Regions from separate parts of the Homo sapiens genome. Here regions 1 and 2 are each linked to region 3. The links are contacts of gene promoters, found by promoter capture Hi-C in blood cells and fetal thymus (Javierre and others, 2016). All regions are on one chromosome and are shown on one strand. The core of a region is centred on a gene start or on the middle of the fragment in contact, and the rest is flanking DNA. Distances in the headings are between cores, read along the strand shown.

What was found. Contacts are between HindIII fragments. The CHiCAGO score rates a contact against its expected background, and 5 or more counts as called.
Region 1: the fragment with the promoter of HTR3C here is called in contact with the fragment with the promoter of ABCF3 in region 3 in 15 of 17 cell types (M1 macrophages, neutrophils, erythroblasts and 12 more); the score reaches 16.3 in M1 macrophages.
Region 2: a contact is called between the fragment with the promoter of HTR3D here and the fragment with the promoter of ABCF3 in region 3, in 8 of 17 cell types (megakaryocytes, neutrophils, endothelial precursors and 5 more). The highest score is 9.9, in megakaryocytes.

The regions. Positions count from the first base shown.
Region 1 is chr3:184,050,282-184,054,569 of GRCh38, reverse strand. HTR3C (5-hydroxytryptamine receptor 3C) reads right to left here and starts at 1,523. Exons shown (of 9, transcript NM_130770.3): 1 at 1,423-1,523. The coding sequence starts at 1,489. RefSeq lists an enhancer at 1-968. The HindIII fragment of the contact is 4,846 bases long and covers 1-2,257 here.
Region 2 is chr3:184,028,864-184,033,037 of GRCh38, reverse strand. HTR3D (5-hydroxytryptamine receptor 3D) reads right to left here and starts at 1,296. Exons shown (of 8, transcript NM_001145143.1): 1 at 1,231-1,296. The coding sequence starts at 1,296. The HindIII fragment of the contact is 12,637 bases long and covers 1-4,174 here.
Region 3 is chr3:184,184,683-184,188,712 of GRCh38, reverse strand. It overlaps ABCF3 (ATP binding cassette subfamily F member 3), which reads right to left and starts at 2,514. Exons shown (of 21, transcript NM_018358.3): 1 at 2,433-2,514; 2 at 2,059-2,206; 3 at 1,838-1,917; 4 at 1,270-1,316; 5 at 952-1,049; 6 at 730-852; 7 at 306-572. The coding sequence starts at 2,505. RefSeq lists enhancers at 2,210-2,529, 3,007-3,721. The HindIII fragment of the contact is 6,180 bases long and covers 1-4,030 here.

The DNA.
Region 1 (4,288 bases), core at 274-2,773, 130 kb after region 3:
GGCTGGGCTGGTAGGCAAATGGTGGAAGTGGATGTGGTGAGCTGAGGTCAGGGCTCTATTCTCATTCCCATTGCTTCATCCTCATGCAAAGTTTGCCCAAATCTGTATGAAAACTTGGCCTAAGTGCAATGGCAGCTACTTCCAGGAGTCCTTTAATGTACCCATCACAAGACTCTTGGCTCACCTAGCAGTAGAACTGCCCAAAACTTGTGGTCCAAGTCACCTAAAAATCGATGCTAATGTATTTCTCTCTCTAACTCTTAGGATCTTAAGTCTACTGAAGGCAAGAACTGATTTATCAAGAGGATAAGAGACATTTTACACAACTGCACTCACCAGGTAGATATGAGAAACACGGTAGGTATCTGACTGGGTGCTTACCTTGGTGCTATGCATTTATTTTGCTCTTCTCAGATTTAGTGACCTCAGTTGTCTCGTGGGTTATTTCTAGCATCGGGATCATGAGGTGACATCACTGAGCATACAGCATTTGTTCAGTCACAAAGTGAGGCCGGTGTGCCGGGCGCGGTGACTCACGCCTGTAATCCCAGCACTTTGGGAGGCCGAGGTGGGCGGATCACAAGGTCGAGAGATCGAGACCATCCTGGCCGACATGGTGAAACCCCATCTCTACTAAAAATACAAAAATTAGCTGGGCATAGTGGCGCTCGCCTGTAATCCCAACTACTCAGGAAGCTGAGGCAGGAGAATCGCTCAAACCCGAGAGGCGGAGGTTGCAGTGAGCCAAGATCGTGCCACTGCACTCCAGCCTGGGCGACAGAGCGACACTTCATGTCAAAAAACAAACAACAACAACAACAAAACCACAAAGTGAGGCCGGTGCAGATATTGTCTCTCGGCCATGGCCAGGGAGTCATCTGGGTAGTACCTGAGTGGCATCTTTGCTCCATCGCCATCATTATATGGTCCTTTTCTCTGCCTCCTTCTCTCTATCTCCATCTCTTTCCATAATATTTAAGGTATGTGTCCAGATTGGGAACAAATATTACCTCATGGAAGCAAAATATCTGCTCATTTCCACCTCAGATTGTCCCCTCCCTCAGGGCATGTTTAAAATCAGTGGCTACTCTTCTCATAGATATCATGTCAGGAGAAACAGAGACAAGGAGAGGGGGAAGAAGGGTGTGGTAGTGGAGCATCAGAAGTCAGTGAAAAGGTGGAATTGGAGAAGTGGTGAAATGAGACAGTTTGATAGATCCCTGTGCAGGCAGGAACAGAGAAAGTCTGTGTGCACTCATCAGTGAACTGTCTTTCTATCTGTCACCAAAAGGAAATCAGGACACAGACATTATGGAAGAAATATTTAACACATTAATTCTGAATGCCCTCCAAGTGCTAGAGGTGAGTCCAGGTGTCCCTCGGAACCACACTCTGGTCTTCCCTGTTCTCGTCCCATCTTACCTTGAAGCAGAAGACTGACAGTGAGGCAGAGGAGGGCACTCTGCCTTGCAGGCCACCCTCCTTCCATTCTTCTTTCTGGACTCTTCTCTGGGGATTCACCAGGAGCTCCCAAACCCTGGAGCTTAAAGGAGCTCAGACCACACCCTGGTTGCTGGTTTTGAATACTACTCATGGCAAGTGACCACTCCCTGTGACAGCCTGTGACCAGAGAGGTCCCAGCCAAGTGTCCTGCATTGGCTCTGCCCAGATGCACCTTCCGGGCTCCAGGCAGGCAGGAAATTGGGCGGACACTAGGGGAAAAGCATTCTATTTGGCAGCTGTGTGCTGAGATCCAAAACAAAATAACGTGCCTTAATGAGAGAATGTAGGCTGGGGAAATTAGGATTGTGTGCTTCCAAGACCAGGGAATCTGTGTGCACCAAGACCAGGTGCAATACTTAGTGATTTGGTTATGAATACCAAAGTATCTTTTTTTTTTTTTTTGAGACAGAGTCTCTCTCTGTCACCCAGGCTGGAGTGCAGTGGCACGATCTTGGCTCACTGCAACCTCCACCTGCCTGGTTCAAGCGATTCTCCTGCCTGCCTCAGCCTCCTGAGTAGCTGGGACTACAGGTGTGTGCCACCACACCCGCCTAATTTTTTGTATTTTTAGTAGAGACGGGGTTTCGCTGTGATAGCCAGGATGGTTTCGATTTCCTGACCTCGTGATCCACCCACCTCAGCCTCCCAAAACGCTGGGATTACAGGCGTGAGCCACCGCGCCCGGCCCCCTTACCAAAGTATCTTACAGCTTTTGTTGACATTGGAATTATTCCAAATGCCAAATTATAAAGCTTGGTTCATACCTTCATCATCTAGTGTCTATGCTTTTCCAGTAGCCCCTAACTAGATTTCCTCTTTACAGCGTCTCTGCCTTTCTGATTTATTCTCTCCAAACCAATGTTCTCCGTATAATTTTTAGGCTATGCACTGATTACATGATAATAGAACTCATAAAATTAAGATAGTAACACTTTGTGCTGTCAATAGTGTTAATATATAGCATTATTGTAAACTAGTAATCTCAGCTAACATCAATATCATTGGCATGTGTTAATATTATGTCTTATGTCACCACATTCCTATTAAAAAAAATTGGCTCAAATGAATGAATTGGAGCATTTTTATTTCAAGTATCTTAGCTACGTTTCCAGAAAGACTTGGACAGTTTTTCCTTGCAGAAAGGGTGAAGGGCCAGATGTAGAATACAAAAAAAACTTTGTTCAGAATTAGTGATCATGACAGCCCTAAGTAGAAAGTGCTGAGAAATGCAGGAATGACTTAGAGGCCCAAAGTAGGAAGGCACAGGAGAGGGCTGCAGTGGATTCCATTTGAGGTTTGCGGTAGCTGCAGTCCTTCAGACCTACCACCTCTGCAAGTAATTTCTTCCCTGACTTGGAAACTTGGCCAACTTGAGCCAGAGGTTGAAGGGAAAGAAAGAATCAAAGAGGGGAGAAAGAGAGGCAGAAAGGTGGCTAGAAGTACTGGAGTGGAAGGAGTGAGAAAGGGAGGAATAGAAGGGAACAGAGGAATTGCTAGAAAACCTGCTCCAGGCCAGGCACGGTGGCTCATGCCTGTAATCCCAACATTTTGGGAGGCCGAGGCAGGAAGACCGCTTGAGCCCAGGAGTTTGAGACCAGCCTAGGCAACACAGTGAGACCCCATCTCTACAAAAGGTAATTTTTTTTTTTTTTGAGACAGAGTCTTACTCTGTCACCCAGGCTGGAGTGCAGTGGCGCAATCTCGGCTCACTGCAACCTCTGCCTCCTGGGTTTAAGCGATTCTCTGCCTCAGCCTCCCGAGTAGCTGGGACTACAGGCACGCGCTACCACGCCCAGCTGATTTTTGTATATTTAGTAGAGACGGGGTTTCACCATGTTGGCCAGGATGGTCTTGAGCTCTTGACGTCGTGATCCACCCGCCTCAGCCTCCCAAATTACTGGGATTACAGGTCTGAGTCACCGCACCCGGCTAAAAAGTAATTTTTAAAAGGAGCCAGGTGTGGTGACATGTGCTTATAGTTCTCACTACTTGGGATGCTGAGGTGAGAGAATTGCTTCAGCCCAGGAAGTGAAGGCTGCAGTGAGCCATAATGGTGCCACTATGCTCTAGCCTGAGCAACAGAGCAAGACCCTGTAAGAAAGGGGAAGGGAAGGGAAAGGAAGGGAAGGGAAGGGAAGGGAAGGGGAGGGGAGGGGAGGGGAGGGGAGGGGAGGGGAGGGAAGGGAAGGGAAGGGGAAGGGGAAGGGGAAGGGAGAAAGGGAAAGAAAGAGAAAGAGAGAGAGAAGGAAGGAAAGAGAAAGAAAGAGAAAGAGAAAGAGAAGGAAGGGAGGGAGAAAGACACGAGCTACTCAGGAGGCTGATGCAGGAGAATGACTTGAACCCGGGAGGTGAAGGTTGCAGTGAGCCGAGATCACGCAACTGCACTTGAGCGTGACTCCGTCTCAAAAAAAAGGAAGGTAGGAAGGAAGGAAGGAAGGAGTGAGAGAGAGAGAGAGAAGGAAGGCAGGAAGGCAGGAAGGAAGGAAGGAGAAAGAAATAAAGGAAAGAAGGAAGGAAAACTGCTCATGGTTTAGAGCTCTCCTTCATGACTTGAAAGGGTTCAGCTGGGAGACATGTTAGCATCTGCAACATAAGGTACTGGCTGACACAAGGAGGAAGTTGTTGTCATGAGGGCTGGGGCAACTGGCCAGGCTACAGATGCCTTTCCAAGCCAGGAAGCCAGGTGGTTCTATACATAATGTACCTTTAAAGCAAGTCAAACACAGGTGCGATCTAGGACAGATCTGGAAAGCCAGGTGTGTGAATGGCCCTGGAAGTGGATGGA
Region 2 (4,174 bases), core at 47-2,546, 150 kb after region 3:
GAAGGAGATGTTGACATGAGTGGCGACACTGTAGTTGGTGACTGGACCAATAGCCTTTCTGTCAAACACTGCTTGAAAGGCTGCAGGGTCCACCCTGTGCTGGCCAAAGCCTGGGCAATTGATAATCAAAGTGTCGCCATTTCCTGTAGTGAGCAGAGACTGAGAGAGGAGGGCCAGGGCTGGGGGGCCTGGAGAGTGTTTCTGCATGGAGAGAAAACAGGGGGCACTGGGAGAAGCATGTGAGCTCCTCCTTCCTGGTCCAGGAAGAGTAGGCTGAGCTGGTAGGCAAATGGTGGAAACTGATGAGGTGAGCTGAGTCAAGGATCCATCCTCAGTGCCATTGTTTTGTCCCCATGCAAAACCTGTCCAGATGTGTATGCAAACTCAACCCCGACCGCCACTTTACAGTGTCCTGCCATGTCCTTAACAATCTCACTGCAACCTCTCCACCTTCTGCCAGTGTCCTTCTCTTGCTTACCTCCAACCTGGAGCCATGTGGGTGATGTCAGTGACAAATTTTGCACTCACAGTTCTCCGCCTCGCTGTATTAATATGGCATAGATGCTAATAAATTAATGATAAGGGGAGTAATCAGATAGGTAGTGTGAGATATATGGGATCTTAAGGAAACAAATCAATTTCAGTTTTTCAATTTGATGAGTATTTACTGTGTCTTTACTATGTGCTGTGATTGTTCTAACATTTAGTAGTCTTCATCACTAGGATTATCTTAAAGAGTTCCCAGGCTGGGCTCAGGGGCTCACGCCTGTAATCCCAACACTTTGGGAGGCCCACGCGGGCAGATCACCTGAGGACAGGCATTCAAGACCAGCCTGGCCAACATGGTGAAACCCCATCTCTACTAAAAATACAAAAATTAGCCAGGCACGGTGGCAGGTGCCTGTAATCCCAGCTACTTGGGAGGCTGAGGCATGAGATCGTTTGAACCTGGGAGGTGAAGGTTGCAATGGGCTGAGATATTGCCACTGCACTCTAGCCTGGGTAACAGAGCGAGACTCCATCTCAAAAAAAAAAAAAAAAAGAAGAGAAAAGAGTTAACTAAATATTAGGATCCTAGGAAGAGGTACAAAGCCATCAGTGTCACGAGCATCATTTTTACCATAACGAACATCCAATCATTGACTATCTCAGAATAAAAAATATTAGCCTGTTTTCTCTGCTTCCCAGGAGTTACATGTCTGCTCAGCTCTTGCTCTTATCTTAAGGTACTTGCAGCAGCAGGTGGAGGATGAAGCCAAGGAGGAATCCTTTCCCATGGAACCAGCCTCTTTCCATCTTCCTCTCTTTGGCACTTCTCTGGGTACTTGATGATGATGTTAACCTTTAAAAAACCTCAGATCACACCTTGAGCCCTACCTTTGAATAATATATATATCAGCTGGCATTAACCGCCTCTCTAACAAGACCCCTTGGTGACAAAAGAATGTCACAGAGGAATAACTCACCCTGTGCTTTAACTGGGCCTGAATCTAGCCTCCAAAAGTAATATGGCAAATCAGTTTGGAGAAGAGGAAGCAAAAATATGTGGTCCCTGGAGCAGTGCTAATGGCTTCCTCATACTTTAAAGTCACTCTGGCGTACAGTGCCTCACCGAGAAGGCATGGATGACTACCACTGCCTCCAGGTGGCACGTGAACTTGTTAGACCCTGCTGTCATCTTTCTTTCTTTTCTTTTCCTTTCTTCTTTCTTTCTTTCTTTTCTCTTTCTTTTTCTTTCTTTCTCTTTCTTTCTCTTTCTCTTTTTCTTTCTTTTTTCTTTCTTTCCTTCTCTCTCTCTCTCTCTCTCTCTCCCTCCCTCCCTCTCTCTCTCTTTCTCCCTCCCTCCCTCCCTTCCTTTTTTTTTTTTGCGACGGAGTCTCCCTCTGTCTCCCAGGCTGGAGTGCAATGGTGCAGTCTTGGCTCACTGCAACCTCCGCCTCCCGGGTTCAATCGATTCTCCTGCCTCAGCCTCCCAAGTAGCTGTGATTACAGGCGCCTGCCACCATGCCTGGCTAAGTTTTTGTATTTTTAGTAGAGACGAGGTTTTACCATGTTGGTTGGCTGGCCTCAAACTCCTGACCTCAGGTGATCTGCCCACCTTGGCTCCCAAAGTGCTGGAATTACAAGCGTGAGCTACCATGCCCGGCCCCCTACTGCCATCTTTCAAAAAAGAAAGCGTGTTGGGGGGAGGGGGGTCCCTATTAATATAAGCAACTTCATACACTGAGGTTTTAAACATGACTTCAGTATAGTTAAGACTTTAAAGTATGAGGAAGCCATTAGCACTGCTCCAGTGATGACATATTTCTGCTTCCTCTTCTCAAAGCTGATTTGCTATGCCTTTTTAGTGTTTCAAAAGCAATCTGGACCCAGGTCTACCCAATGAAGGGAGTGATTAGTGGAGTAGGGGGTGGTGGCAGAGGTAATACTTTTTTAAAATAAAAGCTGACTTATGATTTTTTTTTTTAAATGGAGTTTCTCTCTTGCTGCCCAGGCTGGAGTGCAATGGCGCGATCTTGGCCCACCACAACCTCTGCCTCCCGGGTTCAAGCGATTATCCTGCCTCAGCCTCCCGAGTAGCTGGAATTACAGGCATGCACCACAAAGCCCAGATAATTTTTTTTTCATTTTTTTATTATACTTTAAGTTCTAGGGTACATGTGCACAACGTGCAGGTTTGTTACATATGTATACATGTGCCATGTTGGTGTGCTGCACCCATTAACTCGTCATTTACATTAGGTATATCTCCTATTGCTATCCCTCCCCGCTCCCCCCACCCCATGACAGGCCCCAGTGTGTAATGTTCCCCACCCTGTGTCCAAGTGTTCTCATTGTTCAATTCCCACCTATGAGTGGGAACATGCAGTGTTTGGTTTTCTGTCCTCGCTCGTTTTCTCAGAATGATGGTTTCCAGCTTCATCCATGTCCCTACAAAGGACATGAACTCATCCTTTTTTATGGCTGCATAGTATTCCATGATATATATGTGCCACATTTTCTTAATCCAGTCTATCATTGATGGACATTTGGGTTAGTTCCAAGTCTTTGCTATTGTGAATAATGCTGCAATAAACATACATGTGCATGTGTCTTTATAGCAGCATGATTTATAATCCTTTGGGTATATACCCAGTAATGGGATGGCTGACGCCCAGCTAATTTTTTTGTATTTTTTGTGTTTTGTTTTAGTAGAGATGGGGTTTCTCCATGTTGGTCAGGCTGGTCTCAAACTCCCAAACTTAGGTGATCTGCCTGCCTTGGCCTCCCAAAGTGCTGGGATTACATGCATGAGCCACCACGCCCAGCTGCTGACTTATGATTTTAAAGAAAAGGTCATGAGCTATTAGCCTGAAAGTTTATGTTATTTTTGGCCCTGCTAGTGTTTTTTTTTTCTTTTTTTAAAGTTAGTTGTGTAACACTTAAACATTGAGATTTCACATAAAAACTGTTTCTGGCTTCATTTGAAAAATAAGATCTAGCAACATGAGGCTCACGTTTCTGCTTGACAACAATCTGCCAAAGCTCAGAAGTAGTGAAACCCTTTGGATGGTTCATACTCACTCTAGATCACCACAGTCTCCATCACCCCTCCTGTCTTATTCCTGAGCAGCTCTCCTCATTTATGTTACCTGGTTGGCCTCTGTAGGTGTTTGACTTTGGCTTTCAATGTTAAGAATTTCTTTTGTGATTCTTTTTTTAACTTTTTTTTTTTTTTGAGATGGAGCCTTGCTCTGTCGCCCAGGGTGGAGTGCAGTGGCGAGATCTCTGCTCACTGCAAGCTCCGCCTCCCGGGTTCACGCCATTCTCCTGCCTCAGCCTCCCAAGTAGCTGGGACTACAGGCGCCCACCACCACGCATGGCTAATTTTTAGTATTTTTAGTAGAGATGGGGTTTCACCATGTTAGCCAGGATGGTCTCGATCTCCTGACCTCATGATCCACCCGCCTTGGCCTCCCAAAGTGTTGGGATTACAGGCATGAGCCACCGCGCCCAGCCTCTTTTTTTGACTTTTAAGTTCAGGGGTACATGTGCAGATTTGTTATATAGGTAAACTTGTGTCGTGGGGGTTTGTTGTACAGATGATTTCATCACCCAGGTATTAAGCCTAGTACCCATTAGTTATTTTTCCTGATCCTCTCCCTCCTCCCACCCTCCACCCTCTGATAGGCCT
Region 3 (4,030 bases), core at 1,265-3,764:
GGATGTCCTGCACCCTATACCGTTGGAAAGGCCATTGGCTACCTTGTGGCTGGAAGAGGAAGAGAATACAGGAAGGGTTTGCACAGTGCTCATTACCTTGGGCACTATGGAAATGGGCACTGTGGAAAGAACAAGAAAGGGCAATGGGCACTGTGGAAAGAACAAGGGCTTCTGAGTCCCAGAGTGCCAAGTTCTAAGCTCTGCTGATTACTAGGATGTACATGCAAATTATGGATTGTTCCAGGACGGCAGGCGCTCTGTAAGCGACAGCGGCTGCTAGTTACTCCCTAGCCGGGAGTCCTCACCTGCCAGCAGCAATCTGGGCAGTGAGCTCCCGCTCCCTCCGTAGCAAATCCTCTCGCACACTGTCACTCTCCAGCACACTCTGCAGGGCAGGAGTGTCATCTCCAGCAACCTCTTGCTCAACGTGCAGCAGGGAAATGTGGGCTGGAACCCGCAGACTCCGGGTGGCCAGCATCTTCAGTAACGTTGTCTTCCCCAACCCATTCCGCCCCACCAGCCCGTAACGGCGGCCCCATGCCAGGTTCACATCCGCTCCAGCCAGCAGTACTCTGCAGGAGTGGAGAAAGGAGACCAAAGATGCTCTAGAAATAGGTGCACAGCAAGTTTAATGACAAACCTAACATTGTTTATAGCCCCGTTTCACCTCTCCAAATTGTCCTCTAATTAGAAAAAGAAAGCCAACCCCTGCCACCACTATTCCCTCACCTATCGCCAAAAGACACATCAAAGTTCTCAATTCGCACATCATAGGATTTGTTCTTGCCAGATGATTCCAACCGACTCTCCTTTCTGCTGCCTGCCTGGCTGGCTGATGCCTCTTCTAAGACTCTTTAAAGGGAGAAATGGACAGCTCTTAGTGCTCCCCACCACCTTCTGTCCAGGCAAAAGCTGCTCTGCTCTCTTCTGAGCCATGCTTCCCCCACTCACAGAGGGTTGCTGGTCTTGAGCGTGTCCTTCTCTGAGCGCTTCTCCTGCTTTGCCTTAAGTCGAGCCTCGGCCTTCTCTAACTTCTTTGCATTCACTGTCTAAGGGTCCAAACACATCGACTTCACTCTCGGGTGTAGGCTCAGAAAGGAACCCCAAGAGAGAACATCTCGAGTAAACCCTCTTAACTTACCCATGATGAACAGACTCAAAGGCTCAGGAAAAGACATAGTCAGAAATCCCCCCAAAAGATACTCCAATTAGACAGTCAACTCCCAACCCCATCACAGACAGTCCCCTCCCTTGCTTCCTCCTCCTCACCGAGGACTGTTCCCTCTTTAGCAGTCCTGGAAGTTTGGTTCCACAGTCTGTAAGCGATAAGAAAAGCAGTCACCTTCTCCCTGAGGGAAGGGAAACTAACATTTTGAGTGACTAATAGGAACCAGGCACAGACACAGATGTTTTCTACAAAACCTTATAATACTGCAGATAGATGGCTATTATCTTCCCTGCACTAAAAACAAAACAAAACAAAACAAAACAAAACTCACGTAGAAGGATACAGAGGCATAGACAAGGCTGGGGACAGATAACCAACTCTTACAAGATCATGCAGCTGGTTAGCAAGTTGCAAAACTGGGGGTGAAAGCAAGTCTGTCCAGCTCCAGGCTCTTATGCTTCCTATCCTACCCAAGAGCTTGGAGGGAGAACCCTCCAACCTCCTCCCCACCCCCATCATGGGCTCTTCTGCCCTCGGTAAAGACATCAACTAGCTCCTACAACCTTGTCCTGTGGAAAAGACGTAGGAGCCCTAAGCTGCAGGCAGCAGATGGTTGGGGGCGGAGAAAAGCACAGGGGGGCAGTTAGTTCAACCTCCCCTCACTCTCACCGTAGTTCTCCGTTATCTTTGACAACTGGATAGGGGCGTCCAGTAGCACCTGGCTATTTCCCTGGCTTTGTGGCTCAGCCCTATGTGGGTAGGGATAGAAAGCGCAGAGTTAGGAGTTGAGGGAAAAGCTCTATGGCCATCAGATCTTCCTCCCCCACCTCTTGTCTCCGGACCGTTCGCCGTCCCTTCGCCCCCATCAACCCCTACTCCCTGGCACATACAGACGCAGAGTGTTGTACATGCGCTGGCACACGGCCCTGATGCCCGCGTCATCCTTGCTGTCCCCGGACACCTCTTGCAATAGTTCCCCTACAGCTTCCACCAGGTCATCCACAGACTCGAAGTCCGCGCTGCCGCTGTGCAAGACGCCTGGGCAGGGCGTGGTAGAACGAGGAAGGTATCGGGTAGGGTGGACACACAAGCAGTTTCAGACCCCAGACAGAGGCCCCAGTCCAGGCTCCAGACCCAACCAGCCCCCGGGACAAGAGGTCATGCAGAGGAGAGGCCTGGCAACAGTCCCGGGCACGACGCTCGCTTAGACTTTCCCCCGGCCTCCACTTCGGTCTCCCCAGCCGGCCGATTCAGTTCTGCTTACCGGTCACGTAGTCGAAGACTTGTCCGTCAATTTCGGGGAACTCGCTCCGCAGGATTTCGGCGCAAGTCGCCATGTTCCACTCAGGAACCCGTCCGCGCAGTCGCTGTGAGACCCCGGCCTAGGCCCGCCCCCCGCCCTGCCCCCGAAATCTCGCCCTTCCTTGCAAGGCGCATGTGTAGCGGTGACGCAGGAAAGGAGCGGAGTGCGCAGAGCCCGGTGGGCGGGGCGAGCGGGGCCTTGAGGAGAGGCGCCGAGTCTGCGCCGGAGCCGCGCTCTCTGCGCGTGCGCGACACCTTTTCCGCTGAAAGATTAGCCACATGTGCGGTTCTCGCTGCCTTCTGGGAGGTGGAGTTCCGGGAGCGAGGGGTGGGGCAAAGGCTGGGAGCTCAAGGTTTATCGGGGCCGCGAGGCACCCGTGGTCTGGCGGGTGGGAGCCTCCCAAGAGGCAGGCGGCTGATAAAGCACTTTGGCTTTGCCAGGTTTTATGCGCTCCCTCGAGGCGCGTCTGCTGCTGGTGCGTACCCAGTCAGGCCCATTTTGGAGCCTGCCCAGAGCTTTGCTGACTCACCCCGGTCCCTGACTCTCAGAAGCCCCCTGCTCAGTGCTTTGCTTTCGCGGGTCCCCAGACCCTACGGGCTTCTCAGCCTGGTGGCCAGCGCCACCCGCCTCCCCGCCGCGACCGCCTTTTCACTGTGTAATTCAGCCGACCTTTGTGAATTAAGCCCATTCAGTTCTTCCACCACCCCAGGGCACGACCAAATCCACCGCCAAAGGGCAAGAAAACCAGGACAACGTGGCCTGTATAAATTATTCCCTACCTACACCCTGAGCAGACTTCTCTGCACTCAATAAATGCCAATAAAAGGCTATTTCCTTTCACCGATTCCCTCGGGAAGTTAGGAATTTCCTCCAAAATGATGCTACTGCTTTATATTTAACGTGAATATTCCTCCAATTGGTCTCTAAAAGTGGCACCGAAAATTACATTATTACCCATTCATCCCTTTGGATTAAACATTGCCATCATGAGGCATCAATCCCGATATTGAACCATTTTACAGGAAATACAGGTAAAGAGGAATATGTTAAGTGACTTCATGGGGACAACAGGCAAATTCTGATGTGGTAAACTACAGAACTCTGGTTTCTTCCACAAAATTGCAAGACCTGAAGGGAAACATCAATTTTTAAAATTTGAGGAGCATTAACCAACCACAATGGACCTTATCTGGAAAAATTTGATAAGACACCTGGTTAAGTGAACACAAACTGGATGTGATATTAAGGAACTGGCCACGCATTGATCATAGTTGAAGCTGGGTGATGAGACATGGAGATTCATTATATTCTTTTTTTTTTTTTTTTTAATTTGAGAAGGAGTTTCGCTCTTGTTGCCCAGGCTGGAGTACAGTGGCGTGATCTTGGCTCACCGCAGCCTCCACCTCCTGGGTTCGAGCGATTCTCCTGCCTCAGCCCCCGAATAGCTGGGATTACCGGCATGCACCACCACGCCCGGCTAATTTTGTAATTTTAGTAGAGACGAGGTTTCCCCATGTTGGTCAGGCTGGTCTCGAATTCCGGACCTCGGGTGATCCACC